2 separate regions of the Homo sapiens genome follow, and region 1 is linked to region 2. Evidence: promoter capture Hi-C in 16 types of primary human blood cells and fetal thymus (Javierre and others, 2016). All regions are on one chromosome and are shown on one strand. Each heading gives the region's core, a stretch centred on a gene start or on the middle of the fragment in contact. The rest is flanking DNA. Distances are from core to core; before and after follow the strand shown.

Region 1 (5,095 bases), core at 1,170-3,669, 48 kb before region 2:
TTAAGGTTTTATTGCAAAGTCTTGCCTTGTTTCCTAAGATGATACAATTTATAACATGCAAGTTTGCTGTCTGTCTCCTCCCTTTATGTACACACAAAATGAGCAAACAGGTGGCCATGAAACAGATGGTCATAGAATTGGTTCAGTGGTTGTGAGTGCAGCAACCCAAGAGTGTCTTGTCTGAACTACCACCAGGAATGCCCGGACACAGTAGACAAAGGTTGTTCAACTGGACGCCTTAGGATACATGCTTCCAAAAGCAAAGTAGCCGAAAAGAAACCAGAATCACAGAATATCGGAGCCAGAGGAACATTTGGAGTTAATTCAGTACCTCCTCCTTTTCAGCCTACAGGGAGATAGTGGAACAGAAGCAGGGATGGGCCTGCCTTCTGTGCCCACAATTCACTGGGGATTGTTGTGGTGAAGAATTTCATTTATGATGAAGGAGAAATAAACTCCTGTCAGCTTAAATTCAGGCAGGTTTATTGAAAAGGTGAAGAAGCATCCTGCAGAAGCAAAGCATGGCTGAGGCTTGTGGGCTCTGTCTGGGAAAATGAGCAGCCGATAGTGGCTGTTGCTGCAACTGACTCTGGGGCCTCATGGTCTGTTGTTCTCTGTGAGCACCTCTTCTATTCTCTTGTATCTTCCCTCAGCCTGGCAGTCTCTGTGTATTCTTCAACACATAATTGAACATGGCTGTGCCAGCCCCAATGCCACCTGGCAGTTTAAGTCAAATTAAAAAGGCATGAAATGAACTGGCCCTTTATAATACAGCTGTTGGAACAACAGTTGAAAATATAATATCTTGACTCCTGGTTGAGTGCTTTATGCTGAATTTTCTTTTCTGAATAGAGCAAAGACTTTGGGATATTAGTGTCATCTAGCATTATTAGCTAGTATGCTCCTTTTGTTTCCCCTATAACATCCCCTCCACCTGACCACAGATCCACTCTCCACTCATTTCCACCCTGTCTTATGCCACTCGGGGCTTGTCCCTTCTAGAATGCATCCCTGGCTCCCCTGCGTGCACACTTCCAGTTAGGTTTAGCAATGGGGGGCACCCAGTGGAGCCTGGAAGTGAGAGGAAGGTGAGGTCCGTATTTCTTCCCTCTCCCTCCCTGCTCTGGCACTGAGTATCTGGCAATAGCTGCATCTGTCTATTACTTCAGTGGCCACTCTTCCACAGCCCCAATTCTCAGTGGGTCCCATAACATTATTTACCTTTGTTCTTTTAGCTCCCATCAAGGAAGATCCAGAGACATTCTTCTCACCAAGGCATTAAGAAATGCATGGGTGAGGGGAACAGCAGTGTGTGTGTAAAGGTCCTGTGGCGCCTCTCCTCTGCAGGCTGGAGGTCATGGCGGGAGATGCTGCATGGATTTGCCCTCCCTGCTGTCAGTGAGAACAGCAGGGTTCTGGAAGAGTAGAGGACAGGCCATGGGACTCGGCTGTCTAGAGACAAGGCCGAAGGGATTTCCTTGAGAGGCAGGGACACGTGGTGGTGACCAATCATTGTGAGGTGTCTGGGATGTAATGGATGGGAAATCCACTAAGAAACCAACTTATGTAATAATTAGGAAAGCTCTAGTTCTGAGGACAGAGACCTGTTGGAGTTACCATAGTGGGAATTTATGACCTGGTATCAAGTTCAGATGAGAGGAGATTGGATCCCTTGGGGAAGAGTGAAGCCTTCAATGCTGCCACAAGTGTATGCTGTAAATCTTCCTCCAGGTCTTCCCCAGAAGGACCTGAAGCCTTTTATGTGGGTGACTGAGGAAAGGGAAATACTCAGAGCTTCTATGGCTTGTTGGATTCTGGCTCTGAAAATGCTAGCCTAAGGACACCTGCGGTGGACATGAAAATGCACTACTTGCATCTCCAGCTGCAGGAGGCCTAACAAATCAACAGCCCCAGCTGCTACACTCCGAATCGAGGACTTGATGACATTTCCCCCGGATCTGTACTAGCCCATGAGGAGGAAACCCTCATATCAAGTCCTCCCAACAGAACACTCATGATGACTCATGAGGATGTGGAAGCTGTTTTCCTGTGGCAACTGTGACTTTCTTTCTTCAAAGTCTGTTTTGTTCCTGCATATTAACTGATTTATATAAAATAAGAGAATAAATGCCTAGACTTCCATGAGTCTATCTTTTACTGATAAACTCTAGTTCTGTGAACAGAAGCTTGATGGAATCAGTATAGTGGGAATTTATAACCTGTCGTCCAGTTCTGAGACCTGGAGCTTCTTGACTGAGGGGAGATCGGGTCCCTTTGGGGAAGAAAGAAGCCTTCAATGTTGTCACAAGTGTATCCTGTAAATCTTCCTCTAGGCCTTCCCAGAGGGACCTGGTATATGACTTATGATACGGTGACCCCAAATTCAGGATGTTCTCGTCTGCTCTCAAGAATGCAATATCTTCTCCCTCAGGATTCAACCTAGTACCAGTATTTGTGTATAGCTACGCACGTTAATAGACCATAGCTAATTAGTTGAGGAATGGTAGACCCAATTCAACCATACAGGCATCAACCGTATCAGCATACAGGCATCCCTTTCCCACCGTTTCATTCTTGTCCCCACTCCAAAGTCTTCTTCATTTTATTTGTATTAATTTTCTATTGCTGCATACAAAATTACTGCAAGCTTTAGAGGCTTAAAATAACAACCATTTACTTTCTTGCAGTGTCCACAGATCAGAAGTTCAGGCCTGGATTAGCTGGGTCTTCTTCTCCGGGCCTCACAGGCTGAGATTAGGCTGGGTTTCTTTCTGGAGGTTCTGGGGAAGAACTTCCTCTCAAGTTTCCTCAGGTTGTCAGCTGAGTTCAGTTCCTTGTGACTGTAGGACTGAGATCTCTGTTTTCTTGCTGGCTGTCAGCCAGGGGCCTCTCGCTGCTCCTAGAGGCCTCCTGTGTTCCCAGTGCATGCTTCCTCCAGCCAGCAGAGAGAATCGCCCTGCATGGAAACCCTCCTGCACTTCACATCTCTCCAGGAAGACCTCAGTCCCCCCAAGGAACTCACCTTCATTAGGTCAAGCTCATAAGATAATCTCTATCTTAGATTTGACTGATTTGGGATCTCGATTACATCTGCTGACTTGTTTTTGCCACAAATTGTAACAGAATCACAGGAGTGATAGCTCATCACTGGCTTTGTCTACACTCAGGAAGAAGTGATTATATAAGAGCAAAGATCACTGGGGGTCATCTTAGGATTCTGTCTACCATAATATTATAAAGACACAATAATTAAAGAGTATAACAGATTTCTGCTTCTGTCTGTTAGAATAAATCATATCAGACCAATCCTGCCTCCATAAACAACCATAAAATTGTTTTCAGACAGTGGACAACAGGCAGTACAACAGGATACTTAAGGGAGAAGCCCTGTGATTTCCTAGTTCTTTGTCTGGGAAGAATTTCTCAGCAGCTGCACAGTGGGCTAGAGTCCACTCAGAGCAGGGCAGCCCCACTGAGCTGAGAAAGAAGGCAGAGATCAGAGTTCAAGGCCACTGAAGAAATTGCAATCTGCAGGGCAGGGCACCAATAGGAGACAGCTGTTCAGAGGGGGAGCTCTCGAAGTCCATGTGGGGTTCCATGTGCATACTTATCAAGGACTAGACTGTACCTGCACGAGGAAAAGACTAACAGATTTAACAGAGGGGTGGCTGTTATAAAATTGAGTTTGGACCAGCGGTACTTGAGGTGGAGGAGGATTGGGGAATGGATGATGGAGTTCCTGCCATCCAGGGTGGGAAGAACCCATGCACACCTCATTAGCACCCAGGTATCCAACTAAGACACTAGAATGGCTGTGCTTTAGGAATAAGTGTCATGCTTTAAAACCCCTTCTAGACCAGCCCTAGTAAAGCCTGAAATCAAACCCTGTCAAAATCCACAAAGGGGTGGATTGGTGATTGAGTCCTGCCAAATTAGAGGGTCTTGGGAAATGCTGTGGGCTTTCCGTGAATCCACTGTAATAAAACATAAGCCAAATCCACATAAGTCCAATGTGATCAGGCAGTAATTTTACTGCCCACTAGAACAAAATTAATTCACACAATCAATGACAGAAGTTAGCCAAGTCGACATTTAAGCAAAATACGTCTAAGAACAGCTAACAAATAACTCTTCTCAAACTCACATAGAACATTCACCAAGACAGACCACATATGCTGAGCCATACTTAGTATTTTCTGTCCTTTCTCTTTGACTCATGTATACTGTGATCAAACTCTTAAAATTATACACTTTAATGATGTGCAGTTATTTGTATGTAAGTTACATTTCAATATATTTGTTAAAAGTTTATAATTAAAAAAAACTGTCCTAGCTTGATTCAAGAAATCTTTTTTATATTTAAAAAATATATTTTTTTGTATTATCAGTGCAAAAGAGAAAAACTGTATGATTACCCTGACATACACAGTAAAAGCATTTGGCAAAATTGAAAACTTTTTTCATGATTTATAAAAACAAACCCCAGAAAACTCTCAGATTGATAAGAACAGAAGGCACCAATTCCAACCTCATTAAGTGCAGATTTGAAAAACCCACAGGTAACATTATATTAAATGGCATAAGATTGAATGCTTTTCTATTAAATCAGAGAAAAAAATAGAATACCTGTTGTTACTCTTTCAATTCAGCATTATACTAGAGATCTAAATCAATGCAAAAAAGTAGGAAAAATAAATAAAGTATTGAAAAATTTAAAAATAAGGAATTGAAGCTGTCTTTATTCACAGATGATGACTGTGTGTAGGTTAACAATCCTAGAAATCTACAAAAATCTACCAAAACTAATTAGTGAGTTCGGTAACATTGCAGAATATAAGCTCAATATAAGTAGTCTTTTGTATTTCTGTATATTAGCAATGAGCATTTGGAAAATGAAATAAAAATACAATTTCATTTAGAGTAACATCTAAATACATGTTGTGCTTATAAATAAATTCAACAGACCAGACGAGGTGGCTCACACCTGTAATCTCAGTACTTTGGGAGGCCGAGGTGGGCAGATCATGAGGTCAGGAGATTGAGACCATCATGCCTAACACAGCGAAACCCCATCTCTACTAAAAATACAAAAAAT
Region 2 (4,804 bases), core at 744-3,243:
GGGACTCGGGCGAAAGGGTGGGGGGTGGCAGGAGATAAAAGGCTACACGTTGGGTATAGTATACACCGCTTGGATGATGGGTGCCCCAAAATCTCAGAAATCACCGCTAAAGAACTTATCATGTAACCAAACACCACCTGTTCCCCAAAAACCTATTGAAATTAAAAATAATAAATAAATAAATAAAGCTACTATTCGAAAGCTGCCTGGCTTCCACTTTATCTCTCCATTATGGTGCCATCCCCATCCTTGTCACTTTGAAGGTGATCATTGCTGATTTGGGGCTTTTAGGATTCTCACTTTGACCATTTCATGTATGAGGTGTTTATATGTAGACTTTTTTTTTTTAAATAAACTTACTATTCAGTGGACCTTTTTGATTCAGACAATTTTCTGGTCCTTTACATTCTTACATCTCAAAGGTTTATGTGAGTCCTATCAATGCCTTAATTTGGAGCTAGTCAATGTGAGGGTTCAGTAAGAGACCTCTTAAAAGTCCTATGAACATCTTGTTTTCTAATCTGTTCTACTCTCTTCTCTCTCATCTCAAGTCTTTAAATCTGGATAATGGCATGGGGATAGCAGACTAAGGGTTGGGATGGCTGCTGGAAACACAGGAGATCTATCTAATCACCCATTTTGTTAAAACTTTTCTGTCTTACATCTGGACCAGGACTTCTGAAATTGAAAGGCTTGGAGTTAACATCTTTGTACGCCATTGTGCCATGAAGCAATGATGATTCCCATCCAGCTGCCTAAAGAGAAAGAGGTTTGTGTCAAACATTCTGATGGGAGAGATTCTTTAAAATGTTCTTTGTGAACCATGAAAGCATTACTTTCTCATGTCCTACCATGAATTTACACAACTGATGCAAAAATCTAATAACAAAGGTTGAGTAGCATTTTCCAAACAACAGTGAGCTGGGAGCAAGGAAGCTGGCTTCTGATATCAGCTTCACCCACAACTGTCTGTGCATTAAACTAGTCACAATGTTTCTCTAGGCCTCAATTTCCTCACCAGTAGAACAAAAGAGTAAGATTTGATAACTACTATGGTCCCTTCCAGACTTAAAGTTTCCAGACATAAAGGTCCTTTACAGACTTAAATCTGTAGTTTAAAGTTGAGTCATCTCTGGCACCTACAACCTAACCCTTTGCCATCTATACTGGAAAAGAAAATCTTGTTACTCTTTTCAAATAGCCTATTTTTCAGTAGAACTGTATTTTGGCAAACACCTATATTTGGAGTCAGAAGGACAAGGTTCAGTGTCCAGGTCCACTGCTGACCAGTGTTGTGAACCTCGGAAGGTTTCTAATCTCTCTTAAGGTTGGGTTTCTTGAGTGTGTAATGGGGATATGTGTCCTATGCTGCTCACAAGGATTTTGTTGGCATCTTATTTGATGACTTCACTGAAAACCCGTTATTGTAACACACTCTGTTGATGTAAGCTATTTTGACATGATCATCCATGTTCTGCGGGAGAAGCTCAAATAGTAGATCTCTGAGGAAACTCACGCATGTTGAAGGAGTGGAGTCGGTGCTTTAGGAAGGAAAATCTGTGTGTGGGTCTCAAGTCTCACCGCATGGGTCATAACCTATTCCTGACCCTGACAGAAAATCCTTCTAGAAATAAAAGAGAAATAAAGGAAATCCACCATACCAAGGCATAAAAAGACAGCCATGAAAAAGTAACATAAGGGGAGAGGAAGATGGGCTTATAACAGATTACAGGATGTTGTCAGTTTTAATAACGTGATGTGAAGAAAAGATTCTGTTTGCACACAGGGAGAGGTTCTTTTCCTGGCTAGTCAAAGCACACCTTACGTACATTCTGAAGCCGTCTCTTATATGATTCATTTTTTTCACTGTAGATAAGACTTTTATGGATGGATTGTTTTTCTCAAATAATATTATCGCTTTGTGACTAAAGTAAAGATTATTAATTCCTGAGGCAAGAAGATATAAAAGCTCCAGAAACGTTGACTGGGACCACTGGAGACACTGAAGAAGGCAGGGGCCCTTAGAGTCTTGGTTGCCAAACAGGTAATCCTCCTCGCGGTTGATGATGGGGGACTTTCTTTAAACATCTGTTTTCCTCTGTCAGCTATTAGCCAGGCCAGAAATGACAAATTGTATTTCTAGTGAGGCTTGTCAGGCTTTCTGTTGCTGTGTTGTTTGATTTAAATTATTTACCTTCTTTTCTTCCTTCACTGCAAAGAGCATTGGCTTTGGTGTCAAGCTGTTGGGTTAAATCTTGGCTCTGCAGTCTGGTAGCTGGGAAACTTTAGAAAAGTTACTCAATCATAAGTGTCAGTGTCTTCATTTGTAACATGCATTCATGAGATCTACAGTGCAGGTTTTTTGTTTTTGTTTCTGTTTTTGTTTTTGTTTTTGTTTTTTTATGGAGTCTTGCTCTGTCTCCCAGGCTGGAGAGCAATGGTGCAATCTTGGCTCACTGCAACTTCTGCCTCCCAGGTTCAAGTGATTCTCCTGCCTCAGCCTCCTGAGTAGCTGTGATTACAGGCACTTGCCACCACGCCCAGCTAATTTTTGTATTTTTTAATAGAGACAGGGTTGTGCCATGTTGGCCAGGCTGGTCTTGAACTCCTGACCTCAGGTGATCCACCTGCCTCAGCCTCTCAAAGTGCTGGGATTTCAGCCATGAGCCACCACACCCGGCCCAGTGCAGCTTACTTATGAACATGACATGCAGACATTCAATGAATATCAGTTCACTAAAAATTATTCACAGATTAGTAAAAAAGATGCTGCCTCTCCCTTCCCCCAGATGGTCACCTTGACAGAGAAATTCTGTTTGCGTTTTAAAGGGGTTTGAGGACATTGAAAATACACTATTACTTTTGGAAGGAAAGTTTAGCAAAGTGCAAGGTTCACGCAATGATTTAAAAAGAAGTAAGGGGTGGGGAAGGTCACATCCACACTCTCCAAGCTTTGTCTCATTCTCAGTTAATGTTGCCTTAAAGTGTTCAGATGGACCCCAGAATTGATTTTCCAGAAAAGTCATCATTTACATTATTCTCTTTAAGCAATCCATTATTTGAGAGTTAGATTGTATATTCAGATTTTTTAATCATAAAGTATGATTAAATGTGAATTCAATGAATTAACTCATTTTAAGAATTATTTGGGAGGGAAATCCAGAACTCAGTTTCATACTTATGTTAAAACAAAGCCCAGACAGATGAAAATAGAACAGTGATAAATATTTTAACCTTATGTGACAGTAATGGCCAGTCTTTTGATATAAATTTAAAAATTATTTTTAAAAACATAAAAAATAACAATATTTTTGAAAATTTCAGAATGGCAAAAATTATAATAAGTAAGAGAAAAATACAAACTGAGAAATACTATTAGTAACACGTGAAAGGCAATAAACATACAAAAAAGATCTCACAAATAAACATACAAAAAAGATCTCACAAACAATGAAATAGAAAAATGTGCAAAACTGTAAAATGAAAATTCACCAAATACTAAAAGCAAATCATTATATAAAAAGATGTTCAACTTCATTAGTAATTATAAAATATTTTAAAACACTAAGGTTCTTCTTTAATATACCAAAATTAGCCAAAAACTTGACAAAATTAAGCATTCTCTGGGAGCTTAGGGAACCAATCCTTTTAGTGCCCTATTAATGAGGTAAATATCACAGCCCATACATTTTAACAAAGGGTATTAAAATGACAATGTGCATGTTGTGTGATGCCACAACCCTATATATGAGAATTTATACTAAAGAAAAAATAAAAAATGCATGAAAGTTATGTGAGTGCAAGACAATGTATTACAATTAATCTGTTTCTGAGAAACAAAACCAGGCTATAGGACTATATGATCTTATTTTTATAAAATTGTACACAGAGAGAGGTGCATAGAAAGATATCTGTAGGCTACTCACCAAATTATCTCCTGGAGATGGGATTTACTTCTTATTTTCTAGTTTTGCATTGATTTTCTAATAGCTCATGTGTTGTTTGCTAATGGGGAAAAGATAAAGCCATGTTCTTTATTTTTAAAAATGATGTCAACTAAGTGTAAAGGAAAGAGTGCTGATGGAGTCAGATCTGCTTATAGCTGGTGTCCATGAACAAATGACTTCATACTTACTGACCTCAGGTTTTCTCATCTGTAAAATGTGGGTATTGGACACTGTGCTCACGTTTAATTTTAACATTTAAAAATTCAATGTCGGAGCCATTCTATTGGATTTTCTTGACAACAGAATGCCCATATCCGTCTTACCTGTGAGGAAGCTTGCCTTGGGCGCCCTCTGCTGGCCCTCCTGAAGCTAACAGGGGCGAGTGCTCGGTGGTTTACAAATTGCCTCCATGCAGACTATGAAACTGTTCAGCCTGCTATAGTTAGATCTCTGGCACTGGCCCAGGAGGTCTTGCAGGTAAGAACAAAATCTCTTAAAATTTTCTAACCTGTACATCTAACTTGAGATTCCCTTCATTATAAAGTCTGGATTTAGCCAGGAAAATATTGTATTATTTTCCTCCATATGTATTAGTTGGCATCTAGATTCCTGGGTCCTTCTCACCTGTGCAAATGTGTTCAGATTTGCAGATCAAGGAGAACCCAGGAGTTTCAAAGAAGCGCTAGTAAGGTCTCTGAGATCCTTGCACTAGCTACATCCTCAGGGTAGGAGGAAGATGGCTTCCAGAAGCATGCGGCTGCTCCTATTGCTGAGCTGCCTGGCCAAAACAGGAGTCCTGGGTGGTGAGTATCCATCACGTAGCTGGAACTGAGCCACAGCCAGTGTTCACACAGCCC

Evidence for each region. Contacts are between HindIII fragments. The CHiCAGO score rates a contact against its expected background, and 5 or more counts as called.
Region 1: a contact is called between a fragment that was not itself captured here and the fragment with the promoter of REG4 in region 2, in 1 of 17 cell types (M0 macrophages). The highest score is 5.1, in M0 macrophages.

What each region holds. Positions count from the first base shown.
Region 1 is chr1:119,856,687-119,861,781 of GRCh38, reverse strand. No RefSeq gene overlaps it. Among named protein-coding and RNA genes, the nearest start is that of ADAM30, 37 kb to the left of the region's middle. RefSeq lists a silencer at 2,822-3,116. The HindIII fragment of the contact is 461 bases long and covers 2,189-2,649 here.
Region 2 is chr1:119,808,649-119,813,452 of GRCh38, reverse strand. REG4 (regenerating family member 4) reads left to right here and starts at 1,993. Exons shown (of 6, transcript NM_032044.4): 1 at 1,993-2,044; 2 at 4,590-4,750. The coding sequence starts at 4,684. The HindIII fragment of the contact is 5,277 bases long and covers 1-2,953 here.